Regions from separate parts of the Homo sapiens genome. Here region 1 is linked to region 2. Evidence: promoter capture Hi-C in 16 types of primary human blood cells and fetal thymus (Javierre and others, 2016). All regions are on one chromosome and are shown on one strand. Each heading gives the region's core, a stretch centred on a gene start or on the middle of the fragment in contact. The rest is flanking DNA. Distances are from core to core; before and after follow the strand shown.

Region 1 (3,811 bases), core at 1,131-3,630, 62 kb before region 2:
GCTGGGGTCCTGCTCACGGTCTCCAAACACCAACTCTCCCACCAGCCGCTCCAGGCGCGCTGCCCTCAGCACCCTCACCTTGCTGGTTCGATAGTGGAGGAAGGTATTGGCAATGGGGCTGGGAGCCTGCAGGAGGGGAGAGGTGGCCATGAGAGAGCAGGAGTGGTCCTCACAGCACCCCTTCTCTAGTCACATTCATCACTAGCACCACTCTTTTTTTTTTTGTTTTTTTTTTTGAGACAGAGTCTCACTCTGTTGCCCAGGCTGGAGTGCAGTGGCACGATCTTGGGTCACTTCAACTTCTGCCTCCTGGGTTCAAGCAATCCTCCTTCCTCAGCCTCCAAGTAGCTGAAACTACAGGCGCACACCACCAAGCCCAGCTAATTTTTGTATTTTTGTAGAGATAGGGTTTCACCATGTTGGTCAGACTGGTCTCGAACTCCTGACCTCAAGTAATCTGCCCCCCTTGGCCTCCCAAAGTCTCCCAAAGGGCTAGGATTACAGGCGTGAACCACCGTGCCCAGCCCCTAGCACCACTTTTTTTTTTTTTTTTTTGAGACAGAATCTCACTCTGTCACCTAGGCTGGAGTTCAGTGGCGTGATCTTGGCTCACTGCAACCTCCGCCTCCTGGGTTCAAGCAATTCTCTGCCTCAGCCTCCCAAGTATCTGGGATTACAGGCACCCGCCACCAAGCCCAGCTAGTTTTTTCGTATTTTTAGTAGAGACGGTGTTTCACCGTCTTGGCCAGGTTGGTCTTGAACTCCTGACCTGATGATCCACTTGCCTCGGCCTCCCAAAGTGCTGGGATTACAGGCGTGAGCCACCTCGCCCCGCCTGTAGCACCATTCTTTCATGTGATTCCTCTGTCTCCCGGCTTCTTGGAGTTATTGTTTTGGTTTGTTTTTTTTAGAAACAGGTCTTGTTTTGTTGCCCAGGCTGGGGTGCAGTGGCACAATCATAGCTCACTGCAGCCTCCAAGTCCTAGACTCAAGCGGTCCCTCTGCCCCAGCCTCCTGAGTAGCTGGGACCACTGCTGGGCATCATCACGCACAGCTAGTTTTTTAATTTTTATTTTTATTAGAGAGAATCTTGCTGTGTTGTCCAGGCTGGTCTCCAATTCCTGGCCTTCTGCCTTGGTCTCTCGAAGCGCAGGGATTATAGGTGTGTGCCCCACTCCCTGCCCGCTTGAAGTTATTGTTCCTCCCCATCCACAAATAGCTCCTGCAACTTGCCCTGGAAACCCTCCCTCTCCCATGCCCTGTCCCCTACTCCCTCTCCCGTCCCCTCCCCCTCCCGTCCCCTCCCCCCACCCCCCCGCCCCCGCCCCACACACTCTTTTCCACCCAGGGCTTCCCTCAGCCCTCCTGTCGCGCTTCACTGGCTGCCCCATCCGCCCTCACCTAGCCACTTCTAAACCAACCCCATTCCACCTTCCAGCCCCGGCCCTCTAAACCTGCCTTTCCCAACTCTGCCGTCCAGTTCTGTCCTTACCAAGTTGTCCCTAGGCTCCTCTCGGGAACTGCGCGGCCATCGCCTGGCCCCACCCCATTCCCTGGATCTCCCCCCACTTACCTGGCCGCCCCCAGTCCCCTTTCTACCTGGTCGCCTCATCTGGTCGCCTCCGAGCCCCTCCCTTCCTTCCGCCCACTGCACCTGGCGGCCTGTGCTCGGCTCTCCAGCTCCGCCCTCAACTGGTCGCTTCCGGCCCCGCGCCACCCACCAAACCCCCTCCTCACCTGGCTGCCCCCGGGGCCCTCCGCCGGGCTCCTGCGCTGACTGCGCTGCCGCCGCAGGGAGACACTGTACACCGCGCCGTCCTCGGTCTCTTCACCCCAGTCCTGCAGCGGTGCCTGGACGCACAGGCGGACTCAGGGCACCAAAGGGGCACAGGTCCTGGGGCCTCAGCCTCCTTGGCCGCTCGGACTCGGGCCGAGTCCTCCTGCTGCATCCCCACGCCCCTTCCCGGCCAGAAGCTGCGAGACTAGGGCTGGGGTCCCAGGCTAGTCCCCTCCTCGCTGCGGGTCCCCTCCTCCCAGGTCCTGAGGACATGGGGTGGCATTTGGGGATGTCCCAGGGCCCAGTCTAATAGAACCTGTCTCTAGCTCTTTCTGCCGACTGCGCTCAGAGACTCGCGCCCCCATCCCTAAGAGGAACCAGTCGCTTCACTGGGTCAAGGGCCGCGAGTCCCCAGGAGGGGACTCCAGGGCAAGTTCAGATTGGGAGCAGATACCGTCCGACGGGCGGGCGCTTGGAGTTTCTGGACCTGCGGGTCACCAGGGATGCGGGGTCCGGGGATCCCTTGTCCCCTTACCAGGGCCAGCTCTTTGCCTGCTGTGCGCTCCATGGCCGGCGCCCGTCCCTCTCAGTGGCGCCGCTGAGTGAGGCGGAAGGGCCGGCGGGTGGCGGGTGGCGGGCGGCGGGCAGTGGCCGGGCGCTGAGGCCAGAGGGGCGGAGCGGCCGAGCTGCTGGGGCGGGGCGGGGCAGGGCAGGCCGGACCCAGCCTCTGGGTGCCTCCAGCCGGACCCAGCGCCAGCCCAGGAGAGGTCCTGGCTCTTCCGCTGGGTGCCTATCAATCTGTCCCCAGAAGAAAGGACATATCTGTCCCCAAGGGGTCTTTTTTGTATCCCCAGATGTGGGGGAGCTCCTGTGTGGGGGCATGTGTGTGTCCCCAGACCAGAGTCCTCTGTCCTCCAGTGGAAGGGGCTAGCTTGATCAAGTGTGGGGGCATCTTCCACTTTTTATTATTATTGCTATTATTTTGAGATGGAGTCTCGTTCTGTCACCCATGCTGGAGTACAGTGGCTTGATCTTAACTCACTGCAACCTCCGCCTCCCAGATTCAAAGGATTCTTGTGCCTCAGCCTCCCAAGTAGCTAGGATTACAGGTGCCGCCACCATGCTCAGCTAATTTTTGTATTTTTTGTAGAGGCGGGGTTTTGCCATACTTGCCAGGCTGGTCTCAAACTCCTGGCCTCAAGAGATTCGCCCACCTCAGCCTCCCAAAATGCTGGGATTACAGGCATGAACCACGGCGCCCAGCCTTATTATTTTTTAGAGACAGGGTCTCACTCCTGTTGCCAAGGCTGCAGTGCAGTGGCTTGATCTTGGCTCACTGCAATCTCCGCCTCCTGGGTTCAATCCATTCTCCTGCCTCAGTCTCCCAAGTAGCTGGGACTACAGGCATATGCCACCATGCTCAGCTTTTTTTTTTTTTTTTTTTTTTTTTTTTTTTTTTTTGGTAAAAACTGGTTTTCACCATGTTGCCCAGGCTAGTCTGGAACCCCTGGGCTCAAGCGACACACCCAGCTCAGCCTCCCAAAGTGCTGGGAATATAGGTATGAATGAGCCACTGCACCCCGCCCTTATTTTATTTATTGAGACAGGGTCTGGCTCTGTGGCCCAGGCTGGAGTGCAGTAGCACGATCATAGCTCACTGCAGCCTGGAGCTCCTGGACTCAAGTGATCCTCCCAACTCAGCCTCCCAAAATACTGGGATTACAGGCATAAAACCACTACATCGGGCCATCTCCCATTTTTAAGCTCCATCTGCGTCACTAGCTGATGGGAGTCATCATGACCCAGGTTGGAGGAGGCAGTCTGTGGCCCTGGGTTTTCAGGGACAGCCGTCTCTTGGGTGGTGCAGGGTCAAAAACAGATGAATACCCAGGGGCATGGTCGGTAACATTTATTGCGCAACTCTGAGGCCGGGGCGGACCCAGCTGGGGAGATTTACTGTGGGAACGTCTGGCCCGGCCCCTTCCTCCCCTCCGGGCGCCGCTGGCCGCCTCCGTTCCCGGTCCGGGCCGCGTT
Region 2 (3,408 bases), core at 528-3,027:
GAGCCAGGCCTCCGGGACCTCATTTCTCAGAGCCAGGTGGGCGGGTCCCAGGGTCCAGGAGGGGAGAGGCTTAGGCATGGAGGGAGCGCCAATCATGCCCCCACCCCCAGTGCTAGCCACGACTCGAAAAAGGGGCCCGGAAAGAGACACAATGCACAGAGACACACACGCAGAGACGGAGAGATAGGAAGAGTGGAAGAGGGAGGCCCAGGCGCCGGGACCAGACAAAGGACGCGCGGCGGCGCGGGGAGCGGAGTCGCGCGGCAGGGGCGGGGGTGGAGCCGGGGTGGGGCTATAACTGGCCAGCCCCGCCCCCGGGATACGCCCGGGCTGCCGAGTGGGAATCCGAGGGCTCGGGCGAGGCCGGGCCCCCGGGGCCCTGGGGGCGGGGCCTAGATGGGCGTGCCCGGGCGTGGCCAGGCAGGGCGTGGCAGGGCGGGAGGGGCTGCGCGCTCGGGAGCTGACCAGCTCCGTGGCTGCTGAAAGCACCGAGCGCGGGGCTAGCGGTGCGGGCGAGCAGGCGGGCGGGCCGCGCTCAAGGTCACCTCGCGGCCCAGAGCCTTGGCGAGGTGGGGAGCCTGGACCTGGCCTAAGGGGGCTGTCTCGGCCTCCCACCCCATCTCCCGGGGGGCGGAGACCCGGGAGCCCAGAGGTGCCCCCCCAACCCGCGGGCCCTCCTCTCCCCTCCCCCTCCCCGCAGCCCGAGGCGCCCGCGCGAGGCTGCGGCCCGCGAAGAAGCGCCGAGAAACAAAGGGACGCGGCAGCAGCGGCGGCGGGCCCGCGGGGCCTCCGGGCGCGCCCCCTCCTCTCCCCTCCCCGCTTGCCGCAAGGTCGACGGGCTCGAGGACGAGACGCCCGCCTCCCGGGTGCGGCCGAGGCCCGGGGCGCGCGATCCGACGCCACCCGCTTTCCCAGGGCTCTCGGGGACGCTTTGTCGCTTTGGCTTGGCCCAGCACCAGTGATCGGGCCCTGCGTTTGCCTGGGCGGCCTGCGGGGTCTGGGCCTGGATGGAGGAAGCATCCTTAGCCGCCGCGGCCCCTCCCCCATCAGGCCTGCTGGAGAGGGGGCAATCCCGCCTCCAGGGCGGCGTCGGACGCCTCCCGAATCGCAGTCAGTCTCCCTAAGGCCCTCTCAGACCAAGCTCTAAGCGCCCTCAGCACTCTGGGCGCGGCCCTGCCCACTCTCAGGCCCCGAGGCTTGGTCCTACCCCCCCAACCCGGGCCTAGCTAGGCCTGGTCCTACCCCCCCCGCCGCACCCGCCCAATCTCCGCGGAGCCTGGGCCCAACTCCTCCCCGTCCCGATTCCCTTTCGGCGACAGGGGAATACCTACAGTGACCATTCTTGTGTGCCCGGCGGGCGCGGTCCGTGTTGAGGGGGGCTCCGGGGGTGGTGCACTCCTAGGGGGGCGCCCGATGCTCACGCTGGGGTCCCGCCCGGGCGGCCTCTGGTGCGGCCGCTGCAGATGTGGCGATGAAGGCGGCGGCTCCCTCGAGGGCCAGGGACGGGCCCGAACCCGGGGATGCGCGCGCGGATGGCCGGGCCCCGGGGTGGCCTGCGGGCGGCAGGGGATGGAAAGAGGGAGCGGGCGCGGGGTTGAGGACGCCCCCTGCGCGGCCCCGCGGGGCCCGGGGAGGTTGCGCTTCCCGACAGAGATCGCGGCGCTCTGCCTTTCGCCGCCGCCCCTCGGTCGGTCCTGTCCGGTCCCGTGTGTTCAAGTCCTCTCCCCTCGCCCACCCTCCCTCCCTCCCTCCGGCCCGCGCTGCGCGCTCCGCGCTCTGGACCGCGCCGCCGCCGCCCCCAGCCCTTTATAGCAGCAGCTGCCAGCGCCGGCGTCGCTCATTGGCTGCGGCGACCGAGCTCCGCCTCCTCGCGGCTCCCGACGGCGCGGCAGGTGGAAGTGAGCGCGCACTGGTCGGGACTCTGAATCCCCCAAAAGCGCATCCTAGGTGCTCGGGTTGCCAGATTTGGGCCCTCCTTCCCTCGAGGCCCTTGCTTCCTACCCTGGCACCCCTTCTTGGGCTGGCTTTCGGGCCAGGAGACGGGCTCCCCTCCTCCGTCCAGCTCCTAGAGCTGGAGGAGCCAACAGAGCGAGGAGGTATTAGTGGCCTGAATATGCGACCTTCCAGAGGTGTTGTCCACTGAGGGAACTGGACAGGGGATCAGGAACCAATATTTTAGTAGGCAGAGGCCTGGGTCCCCAGATTTGGAGGCACCAGTGTAGACCACCTCAAGACCACGGGGGAGGGTGGCTACTGTGGCCCTAGTCTTCTGCAGAAGGAGACTGGGACGCTGTTGGTTTTGAGTGAGCTGGATCCTTCTAGGGTTCAAAAGGTAAGGACTGGCACTCCCCAGTGCAAGGAAACTCCGCACTGCTCCGAAGGGGGTGAAAAGGTTTGGGGCTCAGTGTTCTGGACAATCATCGCTGGAGCCATGCAGCTCTGGGAAACCACGGATCCTTCTTGGACCCCACAGAACTGGGGTGGGTGGATCTGCCACATAAATGTCCTGGCTTTCTAGGCTCGTGATTGGTCCTCCTGACTGTGGAGTCATGCTCGCTCTCTGCTAGGGGGAACCTGGCCTCTCTCTAAGGCGTTGGGGGTGGCGCAGCCTCCTTTGGTGCGCGGGCGCCGGTGCATGTTTACGTCGGGGCGCGGGAACTAGCACACACTGGGGCGGGGTCGCCAGGGCGTGAGGCTTCAGCACCACAGACAGCAATCCGACAGTCCGGTCGAGGGCGCTGCCGGCGAGGTAGCCCAGACCCCCTAACTGGAGAGCGGCAGTCCCCACCCAATCCTCGTTCCTGCACGCCCTTTAGGCTCCAGACTGTCAGAGAGCGCCACCAGCGAGGAGAGCCTAATTTGCCCAATCAGGGGCGGCCCTTGAGATAACCAGTTACTGGAAGATGCCCTAGAGATCGAGCCAATGGGAGTGCGCGCACCAGGGGATGCTGCCACGCCTGGAAAGGGCAGGCCAATCGCAGTGGCCCGCGCAATAGGGGCGGTGGCGGTGCAGATCCCCGGGTGGCCCCTCTTGGGCTCGCCGGGGCGACCTGGCTGCGGGCGCTAGGGGCCCCAAGCGATGGTCTGTTCCCCACCCCGTGTTCCTCCCGGTTTCCGTCATCGGAAACTGAGCTAGGAGGGGGGCTGCTCCTGGGCGCGCGGACCCCGCTGCGGTTCCCATGGAAACCTGCCGGCTCCGGCAGTGCGGGGAGAGTGGAGGGGACCTGCCTCGCGGGGGGAGGGAGCTCGCGGGGGCGGCCCCAGCGGCCGGACTCGCTCATCCTTGCCGATTCTTCTGTCCCCGGCTGGGGTAGCCCCCCGGTCCGCAGCAGGAACTGAGGCATAGCTGGGGCCCCGCCTCATCCCCCGAACTGGTGAGGAACCGGCGGGGCCAATCTGCGCGTGGCG

What was found. Contacts are between HindIII fragments. The CHiCAGO score rates a contact against its expected background, and 5 or more counts as called.
Region 1: a contact is called between the fragment with the promoter of RGL3 here and the fragment with the promoter of ELAVL3 in region 2, in 1 of 17 cell types (erythroblasts). The highest score is 5.3, in erythroblasts.

What each region holds. Positions count from the first base shown.
Region 1 is chr19:11,416,934-11,420,744 of GRCh38, forward strand. RGL3 (ral guanine nucleotide dissociation stimulator like 3) reads right to left here and starts at 2,381. Exons shown (of 19, transcript NM_001035223.4): 1 at 2,313-2,381; 2 at 1,738-1,851; 3 at 1-126. The coding sequence starts at 2,345. It overlaps ODAD3 (outer dynein arm docking complex subunit 3), which reads right to left. Exons shown (of 13, transcript NM_145045.5): 13 at 3,672-3,811. The HindIII fragment of the contact is 8,157 bases long and covers 1-3,811 here.
Region 2 is chr19:11,479,269-11,482,676 of GRCh38, forward strand. It overlaps ELAVL3 (ELAV like RNA binding protein 3), which reads right to left and starts at 1,778. Exons shown (of 7, transcript NM_001420.4): 1 at 1,332-1,778. The coding sequence starts at 1,340. RefSeq lists silencers at 296-490, 2,865-3,114, 3,145-3,408. The HindIII fragment of the contact is 20,383 bases long and covers 1-3,408 here.